Regions from separate parts of the Homo sapiens genome. Here all the other regions are linked to region 1. The links are contacts of gene promoters, found by promoter capture Hi-C in blood cells and fetal thymus (Javierre and others, 2016). All regions are on one chromosome and are shown on one strand. Each heading gives the region's core, a stretch centred on a gene start or on the middle of the fragment in contact. The rest is flanking DNA. Distances are from core to core; before and after follow the strand shown.

Region 1 (5,098 bases), core at 2,599-5,098:
AGGAGTTTGAGGCTGCAGTGAGTTATGATCTCACCACTGCCCGCCAGCCTGGGTGACAGAATGAGACCCTGTCTCTGAAAAATAAAATAAAGCCAATTTAAAAAACTGCTGGTGTCAATTTTATTTTACTCATTTCATTTATATTCAAAACTGACAAGAAATAAATAGCTTATAGAAAGGACTGGGCAGAAAACACTAAATACTAAACTGATGAAGCTTATATAAATAATTTCTAGAAGTACAACCACTTTTTTTGGCTTTCTCAAAGATAAAAAATTCTTCCTGACATGTATGTAAGTCTATAGGAAACAAGGGGCAGTGCATAGCAGTTTCTTTTGCTTTAATAAAATCTATTTTTATATAGCACTATTTTAACCTGTTGTCAAAGCTATTTCACAAAACACACACAATTTTTCTCTTAAACAATGCCTTGTGAAATTGTCAAAAAAGTCTAAAAGGATTCTGAAATGCACCAAAACTCTCTAAACATAAAGCAGATTATAATAGAATGAGACCTACTGTTAAGATAGATCACAGGGTGACCAGAGTTTATAATATTTGATTGTACATTTCAAAATAGCTAGATTAATTCAAATGTTCCTAGCATAAATATTAAGGGAATAATATTCAGTAATAAAAGCTGCACAGTTCAGCTGTGAAGTAGTTAAGGTGATGGCTATCCCAAGTATGCTGATTTATCTTTACAAATTATATTAATGTATTAAATTATCACATGTACCCTGAAACTATGTACATTACCTATCAATAAAAAAAGAAAAAAATAGGCTGGGGGCGGTGGCTCATGCCTATAATCCCAGCACTTTGGGAAGCCGAGGCAGGTGGATCACCTGAGGTCGGGAGTTTGAGACCAGCCTGACCAACATGGAGAAACCCGGTCTCTACTAAAAATACAAAATTAGCCGGGGGTGGTGGTGCATGCCTGTAATCCCAGCTACTCAGGAGGCTGAGGCAGGAGAATCACTTGAACCCACGAGGTGGAGGTTGCAGCGAGTCGAGATTGTGCTATTGCACTCCAGCCTGAGCAACAAGAACAAAACTCCGTCTCAAAAAAAAAGGAAAAAAGATTATAAAATGAAAGCAACAAAATATTAATCTGAAACAAACCACACTTTATTGACAGCACATACATTTGTGAAAAAAAGTACTACTATTGTACAGTATTATCAAAGTCTGATAATCTTTCTAAAAGAAAAGGTGACACTATCATGAGGACACAGCTCCCTCCAAATCTAGCTAGAGCTAGAGGGGTATATTTGCAAATCCTCAGAATTGGAGAGAAGAGAGTGGACCATGGAAGCTCATACCCTTTGATTTATCAATTCTGTCCCCGGTAATTTATCCCAAAGAAAATTCAGGCAAAAATTTGCACTAGTCATAAGAATTAGTTATAAAGATATGAACTACATCGTTACTTATGATGTTGAAAAAACAAAATCAACTGAATGCCCAAGAGTCTGTAAATTAATTATAGTACACTGGACAGGCACAGAGGCTCACGCCTGTAATTCCAGCATTTTGGGAGACTGAGGCAGGAAGATCGCTTGACCCAGGAGTTCGAAACCAGCCTGGGCAACACAGCGAGACTCCATTTCTACACAAAAAAAAAAAAAAAAAAAAAATTAGCCAAGTGTGGTTGTGTCTACCTGTAGTCCCACCAATTGGGAGACTGAGGCAGGAGGATTGCTTGAGCTTTGCAGTTTGAGGCTGCAATGAGCTATTATTAGTGGGCCACGGCACTCCAGGCTGAGTGACAGGGCAAGACGCTGTCTCTTAAAAAAAAAAATATGGTACACCCACATAATGAACTACTGTGCAGCTATTACTAAAAACAGTATAAACCAGTTTGTAAAAAAAAAAAAAAAGCATATACACATACGCATAAAAAAACACAAAAATATAGTCACACACCACATAACATTTCAGTCAACAACAGACTGAATATATGATAGTGGTCCCCTAAGATTATAATGGAGTTGAAAAATTCCTATTGCCTGGTCATGTCATAGCCATCATAATGTCATAGCACAACACTTTACTCGCATGTTTGTGGTGATGCTGATGTAAACAAACCTACTGGGGTGCCAGTGGTGTAAAAGTCTACCACACACAATAATGTAGAGTACATAATACTTGATAATCAACAACTATGTTACTGGTTTATGTATTTACTATGCTATACTATGTACTGTTAGTATACTCCTTTTATAAAAAAAAGTTAACTATAAAACAGTCTCTGACATGTCCTTCAGGAGATATTTCAAGAGACATTGTTATCATAGGAGACGACAGTTTCATTCCTGTTATTGCTCCTGAAGACCTCCCAGTGGGACAAGATTGGAGGTGGAAGACAGTAATATTGATGATCCTGACGAGGTGTAGGCCTAGGCTAACGTGTGCCTTAGTTTTTAACTAAAGAATAAAAAAAAAAAAAGAAACAAAAAAACTTACCAAATAAAGATATAAAGAAAATGTTTGTGTAACTGCACAATAAGTTCGTTTTAAGCTATTACAAAAGAGTTAAAAAGTTAAGAAAATTTAGAAGTTTATAAAGTAAAAGGGTTACCGTAAGCTAAGGTTAGTTTATTACTGAAGAAAGATTAAAAAAATTTAGCGTAGCCTAAGGGTACACTGCTTATAAAGTCTACAAGAGTAGAGCAGTGAATGTCCCAGGCCTTCACATTCACTCACCACTACTCACCAACTCAGAGCAACTTCCAGTCCTGCAAGCTCCTTTTGTGGGTAAGTGCCCCACACTGGTGTAGTATTTTTTTTTTATCTTTTATGCTGCATGTTTACTGTACCTTTTCTATGTTTAGATGCACAAATACTTACCACTGCATGTAACTGCACACACCACTGAGTACAGCAACACGCTGCGCAGGCCTGTAACCTAGGAGCAACAGGCCATGCCATACAGCTTAGGTGTGGAACAGGCTGTACCATTCAGGCTTGTGTAAGCGCTTTCTACGGTGTTCGCACAACAACAAAATGGCCTAAGAACACATTTCTCAGAAAATATCACATCGCTAAGGACGCATGACTGTATGTCAAATGCTATGACAGGAGATGGTTTTTATTCTTTTTAAGTTTATTTAACGAGCATGCATTATTTTGATATATATCACAGGCCATTTCCCGCTAGCTGTAAATCAGAGTCAAGTGACAGCAAGAATTGGCTACTAACTACCCATATCTAACACCTGCCCCCCAAAGCGGCTCAACGGTGGGCATTTGCCAGTCAGGACTACAGGTGGAGGAGCGGCGGCTGCAAGCCGCGACCCAGCCTCCCCGCAGCCTCAGCGTCGGCCTCTGCACTCGGGCTTGCCGCTCCCAACAAGAGGAGGGCCGGGAGGCGGACGAGGGAAAAGCAAAGCCGGGGCCGCTAGCCTCCGCACCCGGATCCCGCCCCTCGGCCGCAGGCCCGGGCCGCACTCCGACTGAGCAACTCCGACCGAAGCGCCGGGCCCGGCCCTACCTTGTAATAAAACACCGCCTCGGAGTAGCGGCCTTCGTGGTCGCGCTGAACCGCCAGACGGGCGAACTGCACAGCGTCCCGCTCCAGTGCTGTGGCGTCCATGGCGCAGTGGCCCCGCGCCGGGGCAGGGAAGGAGGCCCTGACGCAGGACGGCTCTTCGCGGACTGCGGCGGCCCGGCGGCGGCGAGGACTCGGGAGCGCCGCGGAAGGAGCGGCAAAGTTTACTTTGGACGGTGGAGGAGAGCTCGCCTTCCCGTTGCCGGGCTGGGGTCCACCGCGAAGCCGCGCCCCTCAGCCCAGACCCGGCTTGTAGCCCACCCGGCCGCCCCACTTCGCGGCCCCAGCGGCCCTCGCCCCGCCCACCAGCCGCCCGACGCAGGCGCAGCCTGGCCCTCACGAGCTCCTTAGAAGCTGGGGCCGCCGAGGCCAGGCTCGCGGGACTGCGCGGGCTGTGGGCGGGGCCGGGCCCACGCAGGAGCCGGGCCGCGGGGGCGGGGCAAAAAGGCCTGCCGCTGTGCACGTGACCGTCGCGGCGCCCGGGATTGAGCAGCTGAGGGCAGGTGCCACGTCCGAGCTGCCCACACACCGCCTTATGCGTGGCGGTGGCGGTGCAGGGCGAGGCTGTTTTCGTCGACAGTGGGCAGTAGAGGGGTACGCGCCTTACAGATCCTTTCCTCTGTTAAGTGTAAGGGATGGGAGTAAAGAGCTAAGGAAGAATGCCTCCCACCAGCATCTGACACATTAAAAAAATTACCGTGAGGACAGAGGTTCTTTAGAGTCACTCTTCGCTAACATTTATTTTCATTTGTTTTCCACAAGCTGAATCATGACCCTATAGCCCCCCACTGTACACCAAGGTCGTATTGATTGAATTGTTAACAAACAAGGTAATGTATTTCCACTTGTACTTACCCTTAGGTTAACTTGATGCTGTTGTAATTAAATACTTAATTAGGTGATTATTTGATTTATGTCTTCTCTCCCCTAAAGGTCTGAAGTCAGCAGTAATAAAAATGAATTAGTGATGGGCACCACCAAATTCATGCTGAGTCAAAGAAGTAAGAATTGAGTACATAATGTATAATTCCATCTATAAGAAACACTAGAAAACACTACGATGTTAGAAAGCAGATCAGTGGTTGGGAAGGGGATACAAAGGAATCTTTTCGGATGATGAGAATGTTTTATATCTCAATGGTGGTGTAAAAATATATACGTTTGTCAAAACTTATCAAACTACATTTTAAGTGTGTACTTTTAATTTTTTAATTATACTCTAAATTTTTTTTCAGTCATTTGGCCTGCATTTAAAATGGGACTCTAATTTCTTAGTTTAAGTGTATTTCTTCACATTTAGTGAAGTTCTTAATAACAACGGTCTCATCAGGCTGTTATAAAGACACACAGAATTTGATTTTGTGCCTGGCCCAAAGATGGCTCTCAAAGGTAGCAACTACAGTTTTATAGCTGAAGCAGGGATGCTTCCTGTCTTTACCACTTTGATCCCAGCGTTGAGCGCAAGCCTTGTTCCAGAGCAGGTGTTCAACAAATATTTTAAAATGTTGAATGAGTCAACTCCACTACTTAAATATATCTAATGTG
Region 2 (5,098 bases), core at 1,800-4,299, 1.3 Mb before region 1:
TGATCATTTATAACTGCTCTCATGTCTGCAGGTCAGCTGCTTTTTGGCTGACATAGGCAGGGCTCAGCTGGGCTGGCTCTGCAGCGTGTGTCTCTCATTCTCCTCGTGTGGCAAACAATGGCAGATGGCAATGGCAAATGTGGAAAGCCTTTAAGGCAGAAATCTCATAACTGGCTCCCTGTCACTCCCATTCATCTCCGTCTTTCAGCCAAAGCAAATTACATGGCCAAACCCCAAATCCAGGGGTGGGGAAATATATTCTGCTTTTTCTTAGGAGCAAAGTCACATGGTGGTCAGTGCAGAACCGGTTGAATAACACAACCATTCATCAGCCCTGAAGAAACTCATCGCCTATCTGCTTCCTCAAGACTCCCCTTATCAGGGTACCTGCTCTCCTCCAAAACTTTCTCTTTCCCAAACTGTATCAAACAGTCCACTCACACTAGCTACCCTGCTTCCTTTGGCACCCTCTTTCCACTAGATAACCTGTTCTCTCAGCATTTCTATTTTCATTTGCATCTCCACCGTTTGCCCCATTACCCTAGCAGCTCACAGCGGATCCTGACGGAACAGGCAAAACCCAGAAGTTGGGTGGGTAGGCAATTTTTGAAAGCTTCCACGTTCCTGATTCCTCCTTGCCATAGTCCATTACTAGCGAATGACATGTTTGGGGCCTTGCATGTTTGCAGAACCAAATCAGTTGTGGAGGAAATATGTAAATATCTCCATGGGTGTGTGATTGTACCGTACCTCACCTTAGCAAAGCTTAAATGTCATTTCCAAACTTGGCTAGGTTTCCCTGCGTTATATGTCATCGAGAGCCACTATAACTAAATATTTGTGGGAGTCCTAGCTGACTGCCTGCTTTGTTTCTCCCACTAAAGTGTAAGCTCTTCATGAACAGAGTGTGTCTGTATGATTCACCAGCTGTGTCTCTATCTTTACCCCACAGCCAATCCACAAATGAATGCCATCAGCCTTGCCCCCCATCATATCCCAACCATCCGTGTTTGGCTACTCCATTGCTAGCCCAACCTTGCATCTCATGCCTGTGTTATTTCACAGCCTTCTAGGCTGATACTCCCGCTGCTGCTGTGCCTGGCTGCAGCCTATTCTCCACATCATGAAGAGGAAACTTTGAAAAATGGATAAAATTGATAGCAAATTGTGTTTCTCCTGCACTCAGAATCCTCCTCTGGCTCCTCACTCTAATCTCTGGCTTCAGTAGTTGATGGCAAATATTTAAAAGTCAGCCTGCAGGAAGGACCCTGATTTACTGAGTTTTTCAATGTTGGTGGTGTAAATACTCATCATGGCCAATTTCAAGCCGCCTTCTTTCCTTCCCTCCCTCCCTCCTCCCCTTCTCCCCTCCTTCTTTCCTTCCTTCCTTTCCTCCCTCCCTCATTCCTTCTGTCCTTCCCCCCTTCCCTTCCTTTCCTTCTTCCTTCTTTCCCTTCTTCCTTCCTTCCTTCCCTCCTTCCCTCTTTCCCTCCTTTCTTCCCTATTCTCTACCTCCTACTCTAGAATTGACATTCCATGACAGGCAATCCATGTCTGTCTTAGTCATTGCTTAGACGTACCTGGCACATAATGGAGGCTCAGTACGTATTTCTTGAACAAATAGTTGACTAAATGAATAGATGATCCTTTCTTAATTCTGTACCAGGATTTAAGAATTATTCAAAGTAGATGTCATTGTTTTACAATAACCAAGTACTGCTCAGCACTTTCAAGTTCACAAAGCACGCCTCATGCATCATCTCTATGATCTGTACCCAGGTGCCATCCTGAGAAGCTGGGAAAGGCTTTTCTCTTCCTCCCCACTTTATAAATGAGGAAACAAAGACTCAGAGAGGTGGAGGTTCCCCCTCAAGGCCACACAGCAAGTGTGTATGCACAGGTCTGACTCTCAGTCTGGCACTCTTCTCAATGGTGTCCAGTAACTGTTTAGCTCTTGAGGGGATCTCATCAGAGAAGCCTGGAGGCTTCAGGGAAAGCCGTTCCAAGGAAGAGGAGAGAAAGACATGGTGGCGAGGAAGGAGGATTGACAACCAGGGAAGGCCTTACCTAGGCCTCCACCAGGCTGAGCTTCTGGCCTCAGGCCAGTAACATAATGATTCAGGTCCCCACTCCTGATTCTGCCACTAGATTCCCACTATCCTCCCCCAAGACATGGAGCATTGAGCCCCCCTTCCCCACAGATAGAGTACCCTGGATAGAGTGGGCTCCACACCTAGCACCCACCTTCTTGCAAGACTATAGCAATGAACAGCAGAGAGCGCAAGCTGGAGACCCACAAGCTGAACTCAGTCCTCGGGGATGATTTCTTTAGCCCCTGTAGAGTTCAAAAACTTGGGCCAACATTTACAAGCAGGAGATCCCAAGTGGTTACTTTCTTTAGGCAAACAGGAAAATCTTGCCACACCTCCTGGCCATTCTGGGCTGACACCAGTCATCCACCTGAGACCAGACAAGTGTTGTCCAGTTCAACGCAGCCCCAGTTTCCTATCCCCTCTCCAACCTTGAGGGCAGCCATCGACTGCAGTTCATTTCCATGCTAGTGCTGGAAGTTTTACTGGCGTCGAAAAACATGGCTCTGAAACCCAAGCTTATACCAAAAGGAGAAAAACAATATATGTAGGGCCTCATGATTTTATTACATCATGACTGACATAACCCTGAGTTTAAGAGCCTTGGGCTATGTCTCCATTTCAAATATACCTTTTCTTTCCCCTTTCTTTCTTTCTTTTTCTTTCTTTCTTCTTCCTTCCTTTCTTTCTCTTTCTTCTTTCTCTTTCTTTTCTTTCTCTTTTTCCTTCCTTCTTCCTTCCCTCTTTTTCTTCCTTTGTTTCCTTGCTCCCTTCCTTCTTTTCCTTCCTCACTCCCTCTCTTTCCTTCTCTCTCTTCCTTTTCTTTATTTCTTTTTTCTCTTTCTCTTTTTTCTTTCTTTCTCATCTTTCTTTCTCCTCTTTCTTCTCTTTCTTTCTTTCTTGACAGAGTCTCTCTGTTACCCAGATATGGAGTATGATACAGGCTCACACACCACACCCAGCTAATTTTTTAATTTTTATTTTGTAGAAATGGGGTCTTGCCATCTTGCCCAGGCTGGTCTCAAACTTCTGGCCTCAAGTGATCCTCCTGCCTCAGCCTCCCAAAGTGTTGGGATTGCAGACATGAGCCACCTCGCCCAGCCAAGTACACCTTTTCTTTGTCCTGTGAACAGTCTCACAAAGAAGGCATCCAGAAGCCTCCTTTAGGTGAGGATCCTTGAGTTCAGAGGCGTGGAGGGACTTGCCCAAGGTTAAATAACTAGACATAGACACAGTACGTGACGATAACATCTCATCCAGCACAGGCATCTGCATAAACTGCATTCCCAGCCACACACCACCAGTGTGTTCACCATGACAGGGTGTGCGACCTGATGCAATAGCCCTTGTGTAATCTGACACATCCCCATTAGGTGGCACCATAAACCAACAAAGCTTTCCAGGACAATGCCTTTGCGGAAATTGGTTTTCTTGCATTATTAGGGATTTTAAGGCAGAATTGTTTTTCCCCTCTTTCTCTCTTAAAAAAAAAAAAAAGTCTTTCAATATACAATGTAGCATGGCTTTCGTGCCAGGCATAAAATGAAATTTGCCTTAATCCATTGCCTAGGGAGAAAGTGTGTGTGTGTCACAACTGACATCTGTTAAATGTTAAATGAAGTAAGCAAGCAATAAGAAGGTCTGAAATACATTCTTTGTTCAAGAAGTCGTGCAGACACTGATCAGCTGCTCTGTACAACTGGGAATAAAACAAGCACCTTTTTCTCCCCCCAACAAGCGCCACTGAAAGCCCCCAAGGAGGGCAAAAGCAGAGGATGGGTGGACTTGCGTGCCGTGAGGTTAACACTTCTGTTTCAAGTTCAAGCAAATTGGCTTGGCACAGCAGGAATGACCACACTGCCAGCTCCATTGTACCTGCTTCCTCCCCAGGGCTGAACAGGAGCCCAGGCTTGTCTGTCCTTTCCTGCTATTTCTTTTGCAAAGTGTAAGAAGGTGTGAGGCTTCATCCAAATTACCTGATCAGTTTTGACCATCAGCATGTTATTATGGTGGATCTATTCTTAAAATATATTTGTTCTTTTGTTTTCCTCACTAGCAAGGAATTTTGAACCAGTCACTCCAAAGTTAGCCCTTGCAATTTATTAGTCAAGCTTCGTTATTAACATTATTAACAAGAGAATGAGAACAGATGTAATTCCAATATGCAGCTGGAATATCAGCTAAAAATGTGCTCCTTATAAAGATATACAGGATTATCAAATGAGAAAGAGAAGCTTTGCCTATGCAACCAATTATAATTGTGGGATGGTGTATTTTGGGTATTGGAATTTTTTGATAAACATAAGGATAGGCAGAAAGCCCTTCGGTTTCAATCCTTTGTTTCATCCTTTCCCTCATTCCTAGAAATAGGTTAGGTATCTATGGCAGTAACAGTGAGTGCTTCCCAAAGAGCCACACACGTTTTCAAGCCTCCCCTGCGGTTGAGTTGAGCCATATGGATGAGTTCTGGTAAATGGGAAAATATTTACTTGTATTTTCTTTGAGTTCTATTGTAGTTTTATTTTTGTATTTAATCCCTGTGGAATTTATTTTAGTATATTAGTTTCAAGCCGGTTGTTCCCAGACTATTTAATTAATCTTTCCTTTTCCTACCAATTGCACATACCAATCAGTATATGATAAATTCTGATTTCTGGTTCAGTAATCAATTTTCTCATTCCTATGTTGGTATCAAATTCCCAAATTAGAGTAATTTTGAAATATATCTTACTATCTAGTAACAGCTATCCCCTTTAATTTTTTAAATGGGGTCTCACTATGTTGCCCAGGCTGGTCTTAAACTTCTGGGCTCAAGCAATCCTTCTGTCTCAGTTCAGCCTCCAGAGTAACTAGAAATACAGTCCCGTAACCACCACACCTGGCTCCTTTTAAAAAAAATTATTTTAGTTACTTTCACATATTTATTCTTTGAGTAGAATTTAAAAATCAGTTTGTCAAGTTAAAAAATTAAAGATGGATTAAATTCACAGATTGATTTGGAAATAATT
Region 3 (4,182 bases), core at 1-2,500, 1.1 Mb after region 1:
CGCCTGGCCGAGCCTGAGTCTCTCCGAATACCTCTGAGGCTTTTCTAGGTACAACATTCAAGGCTTCTAACCCTCCTGTGGGCCCGAAATGTCCTGGGAGTGTGGATGATACTAACCCGAGACAAAGTGTACTAGGGCTGTGGGTGATGCACACCCTGGCCTCTCAAGGGGTGTGGGAGGCAGAGAGGACGCTTGGGGACAGAGGCGGTGTCTGGAAATAGGGTGTGACAGGCAAGGGGAGAGCTGCTAGGACACTCTACCAAAGCAGGAGGGAGGGTGTGTCTGGGGCTGGCTGGGCTCCTAAGCGGGCCCTAGAAGCACTTTCACAGAGGAGGGGAGAGGTGAGTCACCAGCTTCTCCCACACCCAGCGCCCTGGTAGGAGGCGCTGCTTGTTGAATGAATGTTGGGCTTAAATAGTTTCCCGAGAAAGGCTAGTTGCAGGGAGAAGAGGCCTTGAGGGAACAGCCCTCAGCCAGGCCTCCTCCAACCAAATCCTTGCTAGGGGGAGGAGGGGCCCCGACAGTAGAGAAATGCTCCCTCTCCCCCAACTCCTTCGCTCCCAGCCCAGCCTAAGCTTTTTGGAGCATCACAGACTCGGTTTACAGAGACTCCCTAGGGCGGAGAGCTCTCTGCCCGCCTGGACAGCCCTGTCTGTCCATTGCTGGACAGCTCCACTTGGGCTGGATCGCCTTCCTCCCTCCCAAGGGACTGGCGCCCTCTCTGAGGTCGCGTCCAGCTCTCATAATGCGCAAGTTTCAGGGCCCCAAGGTACAGGAGGGAACTGGGAATGCAAGGAGGGGCCGCGGAGAGGCGTACAAGCAGATCCCAGTACGGGAGCAACACCTCCGAGTCCGCCTCCGCACGAACGCCGAGGACGAGGCGAGCCAAGGAACACGGACAAAAGAAGCCTGGACAGGCCGCGAGATGAGCAGAGGGATGAGCTGGCGAAGGCACAGACACGGCGAGCAGAGGGAGATGCGGGCCTAGCCGCACGGAGGAGCTCCAGGCGGCGAAATGGACCTAGAGGACCCCGGGGAAAAGCCCCAGGGCGACGGGGAAGCCTGGGTGTGGCCCGGCTGGCCCGGGGATACTCACATTCGCGGCCATGGTGGGACCCGGCTCGCTGCCGCCGCCTCGCGCTGTTCAGCTAGGAAGTGGGCTGACGACTGGAGCGTGGTGTCCAGCGGCCTCTTGCCAGCCCCAGCTTCGAAAATCCGCGTGGACTCCAGGGCCAAGCGGGACTTACTGCAGTTACCTCCCCCTGTGCCCAGTGTTTCTGCGCATGCGCGCGGCGAGACGTCCTGGAAACTATACGGTCCGGGACATTGCAGTACCTCATTGATGCGCCTGCGCACTGCAAAGCTTTCGGGGAAATGTAGTTTCTACTGCCTGGAGAGCTGTCGAGGAGCGCGCGACCTGCTGGGAAATGTAGTTTCCGGCTGAGGTTGGCCTGGCCGCGGTTGCGAGGGCGCCGAGGCAGGCGCGCGGCGGGCAGGCCTGGGAGGGGGCGGGTCCGCGCGGGCTTCGGAGGAGCCCGCCCTGCCAGAGGAGAGGGAGGTCACGGCGTAAAGGTGCAGCTGCCGCCACCGCCGCTTCTGCAAGGTCTCAGGGACGGGCTGCAGCCATGTCCTATTGCCGGCAGGAAGGTAGGGAGGGCGGGCTGCCACGGAGACCGGCCTACGAGGGCCTGCGGGAGACACGCGGGCCCCGGCGCCCCGCGACCACGCCGGGCGCGGGCCACCTGAGGCGCGGCCCAGGTGCCCACCCTGGGACACTCGGAGGCGGGCCGGCTGGGGGGTCGCTACTCCTGTTTTGCGGATGAGAAAACCGAAGCTCTGGGGGGAACGGGGCTGGTCCAAGGTCACAGTGAAGCCCGAACCCTGACCTCAGAGGGGCCTGTGCGTAGGAAGTCGTAAACTAGGTCCGGTTGGGGCACGGGAAGTGCCGAGCACGTTGCGTGTGGCTCGAAACTGGGAATGTATGGTGGTTAATTATCACTACCGCTCCTGCCATACCCCACGTGTTTACATTTTGCACGCGCCTTTAAAAGGCGCGTCCCGAAAAGTTGCCACTCGGGGTAGCGTGTGCTGTGCTGGAGTGCTAGGAGTTCCACTAACGGGAATGTTTTTGAGCCCCCTGCTACCTGTCAGGCACTGTTCAAGGAAACTTGCCTGGCTTGTCTCACAGATCTCGCTGCGACCTTTGTAAGTCAGGCTCTGTTGTTGGTCACATTTTACTGAAGAGTAAAGTTAGACACAGGAGACATGGCTAAAGCCACTCAGCCAGCAAATCGTGGAGCTGGGGTTTGAGCCTGGGCATTGTGACCCCAGAAGAGCCTTATCCAATCTAGTGCCCAGTGGATTGCAGGGAGAACCCTGCCTACCTCCCACCCCAAAGTTGAGCTCCGACCACCTACTGCTTCCTTGATGTTACTCTACCCAAGAGCTCAGAAGTACCCGAGCCACAGGTCGGAGGGCCTCCCCACACACTGCCACAAACTGGCTCCTTGGCCCTGAGCTCCCACCTAACCCCTCCAGGCCCTGGTATCCAGTGTTGTAAAATGAGATGTTGGGCTTCATTGATACGGCAAATACTCATGAAGCACCTTCTCTGCGCCAGAGAAGGGGGATGGATGGTTATAAAACTACAGAGAGAGTTGGAAGTCCCCCAGAAATTCTTTGGTGAATACTCCAGCTCCGTCAGTTAATTCAAGCAATCTGAAGCCCAGAGAAGGAGGTGGCCTACCTGTAGTTACACATCCAGTTAGGAGACTAGCTCAGCCTAAAATTCTGAGCCTTTTCCCTGGTGGCGCTGTCTGCTTCTAGAACCTCTCCTCCTCTGGGTCGTAAAGCCATAAGACTCACTCTTTAATGAGTACTATTATATTTCCGCTGATTACTACTTAATGTGTGCCATAAGCAAAAGTCCTCTGCCCTCACCACTCTTGTTTTTAATTTCGAGTCTTTCTCTAATTTACTTCATTTAGCAAATAATTTTTGAGCCTTTGGGTATAATGAGGCTGTGCTGATAAACAAGACCCTCCTCTTTGAGGATTTACAGGAGGCAGTTTTCTCTGGAAAGGGGAGGCTAGGTCCATCTGCCTCCAAAACATGGAGCCCTATCTTTTCCTGCTTCAAAGATCTCTCTTAGTTCGGAGAGGAGTGAGAATTGAAAGCACTCACTTATAGGCCTTCCTTAGTATTTATCTTGTGCATACCACTGTCCCCGTAAGAAGTCCCTAACTTCCCCCCCTCCGCCCCCCACTGATCCTTTATGCTTCCCATAGGATTTTTAAAAAATGATCCCAAACTGCTTACTGTATCAGAGCTTATGTGATCTGGCCCTGTCTGCCTTTCCAGCCTGGTCTCTTCCCACCCTTTTGCTGCCCAGCCTCTAGCCTCTTGGCTATTCCCTTGGTTTGGTATATCCTGCCTTCAGCTCTTCCGTGGCTGACTCCTCATCCTTTAACATTTAGCTCCAATATCACCTCCTGACCCTTTGTGTCTTTCACATCCTGAACTGTCTGAAATGACCTTTTTTATTTTTTGCCATCTTACTTCCTGCCTGTCTTCTCGCACTAAGCTGAGAGCATCAGATGGGCTGTGGAATCCCCAGCATCTAGCACAGGGCTTGGTGTACAATGGGTGCCCACATCTTTATTGAATCATGCATTTACCTGCCCTCTGTTCTGAGTGAATCACTTGCCTGTACAAGTTTATTTCAGGGGTCCACCTGCTACCCAGCCTTCAGGTTAAACTCGTTGGTTTGGCATTCAAGGGCTCTCAGCCTCGCACCTGGGCCTTGGGCTAGCCACACTTCTCCTGTGTCAGCACCATAGTGTTTCTTTCTTAGTTTCCTCTTTCTAATGCAGAGCCTGCCAACTCCTGTTCAGTCAACAATTATAGAGCACACGTGATGTGCCAGCCATTGGGCATATAGTGGTGAGCAAGGTGACACATTCTCTGCCCTCCTGGCATGGTGGAACAGATTGCCATTAAAACATCACCAGACAAATGCATGATTACAGACTGTCATAGGTGACATGAAGGAAAAGCCCAGCATGCTATGATCGTTTAGTGAAAGGCTCTATGGGGTCTGAGAAGGCTTCCTGAGGCTTCAGACATCCTTTTAAATGCCACTTTCTTAAGAAAACCTTTTGCAATCCTAAACACGTGTGAGCG
Region 4 (5,098 bases), core at 908-3,407, 1.0 Mb before region 1:
TTTATTTATTTACTTATTTTGAGACAAGGTCTTTCTCTGTCACCGAGGCCGGACTGCAGTGGTGCAGTCATAGCTCACTGCAGCCTCCAGCTCCTGCGGTCAGCCTCCCAAGTAGCTGGAACTATAGGCACGTGCTACCATGTCCAGCCAATTTTTTATATTTTATAGAGACAGGGTCTTGCCATGTTGCCCAGGCTGGTCTCAAACCTCTGGCCTCAAGCAATCCTCCTGCCTCAGCCTCCCAAAGTGCTGGGCCTCCGGCACACTTATAGGTGTGAGCCTCCGTGCTCAGCCCTGAATTTAAATTAAAATGTATAAAATTAAATTAAGAAGCCAGTGCCTTAGTAGTCACACTACCACATTTCAGGTACACATGCGCACATGTGCTGTGGCTTGAGGTAACCCTACTGGATGGCTCAAATAACATTTCTATCTTCACAGCAAGTTCTCTTGAACAGTTCTATTCTAGAATGTGGCATGGTGCTCACGCACTGAAGAAATAACGCATCTACTAACTTCATCTTTTTTTCTATTACCTTTCTTTGCTTGCTATAGAATGTCTATATATACATTCTTTGAGAGTAGAGAAGAGACAGTGGATGTCAAATATCTGGGTTCAAGCCTCAGCTCTCCCACATCAATTTTAGGAGAACTATTTAGCACCTGTTTCTGCATCAATAAAAGGAGGTTCCCAGGGTAGTGGAAAAATATAGGTAATAAACATGAAGTTTTTGGTAAACTCTACTCACTGTAGATTTCCACCAAGTGATGCACAGAGAAATGGGAAGGGTCATGTCATTAAATTTTTGTTAAAAAGAGGTGTTTTTGGGGAATAATATTGGTGGTTTTTCAGAAGACACAGTAAGGATAAAATGATGCTACTTCCTTTAAGGTGGGAGGCACCCTTTAGGGAGCCTTCTTGACTTTTAGATTTTATAATGCAAAGTCTAGGACGTTCTAATCCTTAGAATACTAACACACACCTTGGAAATTAAATCAGGAGTCTCTGGAGGTGCACAGGAAACAATCACAAGACCCATCCATTTGTCACTCAAGGAGATAAAAAGAGAAGTTTTTATTGCTCTTTCTTCTACTTTATAAATTTGTGTGAAATTCTGTCCAGACTTTGGCATCACTTTCACGCAAGTCTGTTAATGCTTACCCAGTGACAAATTGGGCCCTCTCTCTCCTGTGTTGGTACGAAGGGGTCTTTTTGTTGGCAGGATTATTTCTCCAGCAGGACCAAAGGACACTTGAATTTCCCATGTGGCACAAAGGTGCCAAGAGGAAAGCACCCCTCCAGAGGAGATGGGCTCAGAGAGGAGGAAAGGGCTGGATTTCCAACCGACTCTCACTCCCCAGAGGTCAGCATCTGAGACACAGGCCAGAAGAAGCCAGCAGTTCTGGTTTCCAGGGGCCTATCAATGTCATCCCTGATCCACTCAGAGGAAGGGAGCACTCTGCCCTTGCCAATGTGAGAACGCCCCAGACGACTGGAAGGGAGCAGATAGGGCCTTTGCACCCCTCCCCAGCCTGTCCCTGCACCTCTGGCCAGTTCCAGGATGCTGGTTGTCAGGGCCCAGTCAGCCAGGGTCCAGCAGGCATATAGGACAACCCTGGACACTGCCAGGCTGCTCCCCAACAGCCTAAGAACTCACTAGAGTGGGCAATAGGGGGCGCTAATCCCCTATGGCTATGTCTGAAGTCAGATTGTCCTTGGTTCAAATCCTAAGTCTGCCACTTATTAGTGGGAATTGTTTTAACCTCTCTGAGCATCAGTTTCTTCTATAAAATGGGGACAATGATATTCTTTCACAGGGTGCTATGAGGGTCAAATGAAATAACAATTGTAAGCAGTTAGCACAGCACCTGCTTCATACTCATGTACATCCTTGCTTTGCCTTTTTCTAGTTTGATTCTGGGCATTTTAGCCTCTCTCTGTCCGGTCTTCCCATCTGTGAAATGGGGAGAGTAACAGCACCGGCCTCACTGGAGTGTTGAAAGGACAAAATGAGTTAGCATAAGAAAAGCACTTAGAACAAGGCCTGGCATGTGGAAAAATGTGAAGTAAGTGTCTGCTACTCCTCTTCATTTAATCAATATTTGTTAAGTTCTTGCTATGTGCCATGCATAATGATAGGAGCTGGAATGGTCCATGTTATTAACCAGTCTGCTTTCCACAGACTCCTAGCTGGTCAGGAAGTTCTGCCCTGCCTGGCCATGCCCCATCCACACACACATTGACGAGGAGCCCACCCCAGCCAAGGTTCTGTTTGGCTCCCGTCTGGGGCTCCTCAGTCTCCATCGCCTCATTCCCAAGTGCAGGAAACTGATTCCAAGGATAGTGCTTTCTATACATTGCAGAAATAGTGCTGGAATAAGGGCATCTCTGAGAAGATCCGTTCAGCTGTCAGAGAGCACTCAGGGATGCCTCCCACTGGTGTGCAGAAGTAACTGGCATGAAAGTACGTTAGAATTCACCACCCACCTGAGGTAAGCGAGGCATTTAAAAATGCATACCTATTTCAAGTAAAAACAGATGCCTCATTGTCATTTCTGTGACTCTCACAGTGATTTTGTCTTCAAGCTGTCTTTTTTTCCTCTAAGGAACTGAAGGCACAATGACCTGGGATTGTCAGTGTTCTCTACTGTGTCCAAACTGGATGCTGTTCAGAGAAGGGCTCATCATCCGGGGCCCAGCAGTCTTCTCCCCCGACAACTCCAGCTTTTCTGCACTGCCCATTCTCTGCCCTTTTTTGCACTCACCTTAAATTGTATTCCAATATCCTTACACGTGATTTTATATGTTCTTATATCACGGTGTGTATGTGTGTTTCGGCTTATGAAAGACAGAGATACAGATACAGAGAACGAGGAAGGGAGAGAAGGAATGAGAGAGAAAGAGCATGAGAGAGAGAATAAGAGAGAGAATGAGAGAGAGAATGAGGGAGAAAATGAATTAGACCACAAAAGCAGGGCATAGACCACGAGGATGTTTATTTGCCTGCTGGCTAAGGCACCTATATTTTCTAGGGCAGAATAACTTTTCATGTGTTTTGAGCGGGGGAGGGAGGCAGTGAACAGTAGCTTGAACGATAGCTTCTCTGTAAACATTGTCAGTAAACTGCAGGAGAAACACCGCCCCTCTTCAAAAACGACTGTAGTGAAAATGGAGCAGGTGGGACTGCGGCTAGGAGGCTGGTAGGTGGGCTGTAGAGTTTTCGCCACCAAATGACCGCAGCTGTTCACAGATGAGCTGGAAGCCTGGAGTGCCACATGTGCATGCCACTTCGTTCCTGGGACAGCCCCTGTGTGTGCTGGGTGACGTGTCGCCACCAAGCCAGGCCTCATGAGCACAAGGTTAGATCCTCAGTGCTAAAAAGGTGCTGGGTCCGGGAGGGGGACAGCAGACTGAGGTCGAGGGAAGCCCTGGAAATGCTGAGAGGTCAAGGGGATGGTGAGGGACTTTTATGTTCCCAGTACAGGAAGACAAAAAATGTATTTCAAGAGGAAATGATGCTTCATTTACAACACACTTTCCCAGGTTATCTGATTCTGGGCCTTGCGTTGTCTTTTATCAGTTGTGGGGTTGGAGTGAGTGTGGGTCACAGGCGTGCCTGTGCTTCTCCAGGTTTCACAAGCCCCGTTGAAGGGTGCAGCCTGCTGCTTTAATATTTGTTGCAGGCTGACCTGGTTCCTGTTTTAGTTCTGCCACTAGGTGGCGCAAGCTAACCAATTAGGGCTGCGGCGCTCAATGCAGACGGCAAAGGCATCATGATCTGACGTTCCTGGATTTGAATCCTTTGTTAGTTTTGTGACCTTGGGCAAGCCACAGTTTCTCCTTCTGTAAATTAGACATGATGAAAATCACCTTGCAGGGTGGTTGTGAGGATTAAATGAAAAGACATGTGCTAAGCACCTTGCACAGTGTTAGGCACACAGTCTAAATTGCTGCTTTTCTCTTTTCTTGTTCATCCATTCAATACACACTTATTGATCCATATTTCTGTGTCATGGCTGATAAGGACTTTGTCTGCAAGCATCCTTTAGCAGAAGGTCTTACAAACAGACACACACACACACACACACACACACACACACACACACTACAGTCTTTGCTGGAATATAAGATATATCTTCTACCCCCTGGTTCAAATTCATCCAAAATTTACTCTGTGCAAATGTATTTATGTATGAAAAGCCACATTCTGAAGAGGAAACACAATGGTAAATATATAGCAACAACAACAACAGCAAACACTGTGAATATACTCATTTCATGCTTCTCTAACTTTCTCAGAAAAATTACAAGCCATAGGCCTCACAACTCATCAAGTACAATGTCAATTTTCCCACCTAATTTTTATTTAAAATATTTTATTCCTGTAATACTTTCATTTCAATTATTTATTGCTATAAATACTTTTCTTTTTAATCTATATAATATTATGCTTTTCTTTCCAGAGTTAGAAGAGTATTCCTATATATGCAGAATCTATTATTCCCTACTGGGTTCTGCTATAGAGTATTACATGAACAAGATAACATGTTTCCCTCATAAAAACAATTTAAAATCCTTTTCAGGCTGGGCGCGGTGGCTCACGCCTGTAATCCCAGCACTTTGGGAGGTCGAGGAGGGCAGATCACGAGGTCAAGAGATCGAGACCATCCTGGCCAACATGGTGAAACCGTCTCTACTAAAAATACAAAAATTAGCTGGGTGTGGTGGCATGCACCTGTAGTCCCAGCTACTCAGGAGGCTGAGGCAGGAGAATCACTTGAACCCGGGAGGCGGATGTTGCAGTGGGCCGAGATTGCACCACTGCACTCCAGCCTGGCAACAGAGCGAGACTCCATCTCAAAAAAAAAAAAAAAAAAAAAAACCACTTTCAAAACATGTATGTTTGTCCCAGAGGAGGGCACAGTGACCCTTAGGACAGTTCCCTCAGGATGGCCCTGGGCTGTGGGCCAGTGTGCTCTGAGTGGAGGGTGTGTGAAGAGGAGGTTGTAGGGGCCAACTTGCGAGGGATTTGCATGTAACACTAAGGAGGTCAGGTTGTTTCCACAGGAAACTGTGAGCCACAGCAAGCTTCTGAGC

The links. The method cuts DNA at HindIII sites, captures the fragments that hold promoters and counts their contacts. A CHiCAGO score of 5 or more calls a contact.
Region 2: a contact is called between a fragment that was not itself captured here and the fragment with the promoter of CAPN7 in region 1, in 2 of 17 cell types (total B cells and fetal thymus). The highest score is 6.1, in total B cells.
Region 3: a contact is called between the fragment with the promoter of TMEM43 here and the fragment with the promoter of CAPN7 in region 1, in 2 of 17 cell types (total B cells and fetal thymus). The highest score is 5.9, in total B cells.
Region 4: a fragment that was not itself captured here is called in contact with the fragment with the promoter of CAPN7 in region 1 in 11 of 17 cell types (total B cells, neutrophils, naive B cells and 8 more); the score reaches 18.4 in total B cells.

Annotation. Positions count from the first base shown.
Region 1 is chr3:15,204,996-15,210,093 of GRCh38, reverse strand. CAPN7 (calpain 7) reads right to left here and starts at 3,848. Exons shown (of 21, transcript NM_014296.3): 1 at 3,497-3,848. The coding sequence starts at 3,598. It also overlaps the pseudogene COL6A4P1. RefSeq lists a silencer at 3,623-4,142. The HindIII fragment of the contact is 5,244 bases long and covers 219-5,098 here.
Region 2 is chr3:16,549,317-16,554,414 of GRCh38, reverse strand. No RefSeq gene overlaps it. Among named protein-coding and RNA genes, the nearest start is that of LINC00690, 16 kb to the right of the region's middle. The HindIII fragment of the contact is 877 bases long and covers 2,611-3,487 here.
Region 3 is chr3:14,122,120-14,126,301 of GRCh38, reverse strand. TMEM43 (transmembrane protein 43) reads right to left here and starts at 1,250. Exons shown (of 12, transcript NM_024334.3): 1 at 1,097-1,250. The coding sequence starts at 1,108. CHCHD4 (coiled-coil-helix-coiled-coil-helix domain containing 4) reads left to right here and starts at 1,432. Exons shown (of 3, transcript NM_001098502.2): 1 at 1,432-1,647. The coding sequence starts at 1,626. RefSeq lists enhancers at 616-905, 338-1,072, 1,006-1,205, 1,073-1,807, 2,576-2,675 and 2 more and silencers at 1,396-1,955, 1,966-2,015. The HindIII fragment of the contact is 788 bases long and covers 578-1,365 here.
Region 4 is chr3:16,246,107-16,251,204 of GRCh38, reverse strand. It overlaps LOC124906218 (a long non-coding RNA gene), which reads right to left and starts at 19. Exons shown (of 2, transcript XR_007095838.1): 1 at 1-19. It also overlaps a transcript of GALNT15 not described here. RefSeq lists an enhancer at 3,569-3,863. The HindIII fragment of the contact is 5,868 bases long and covers 1-5,091 here.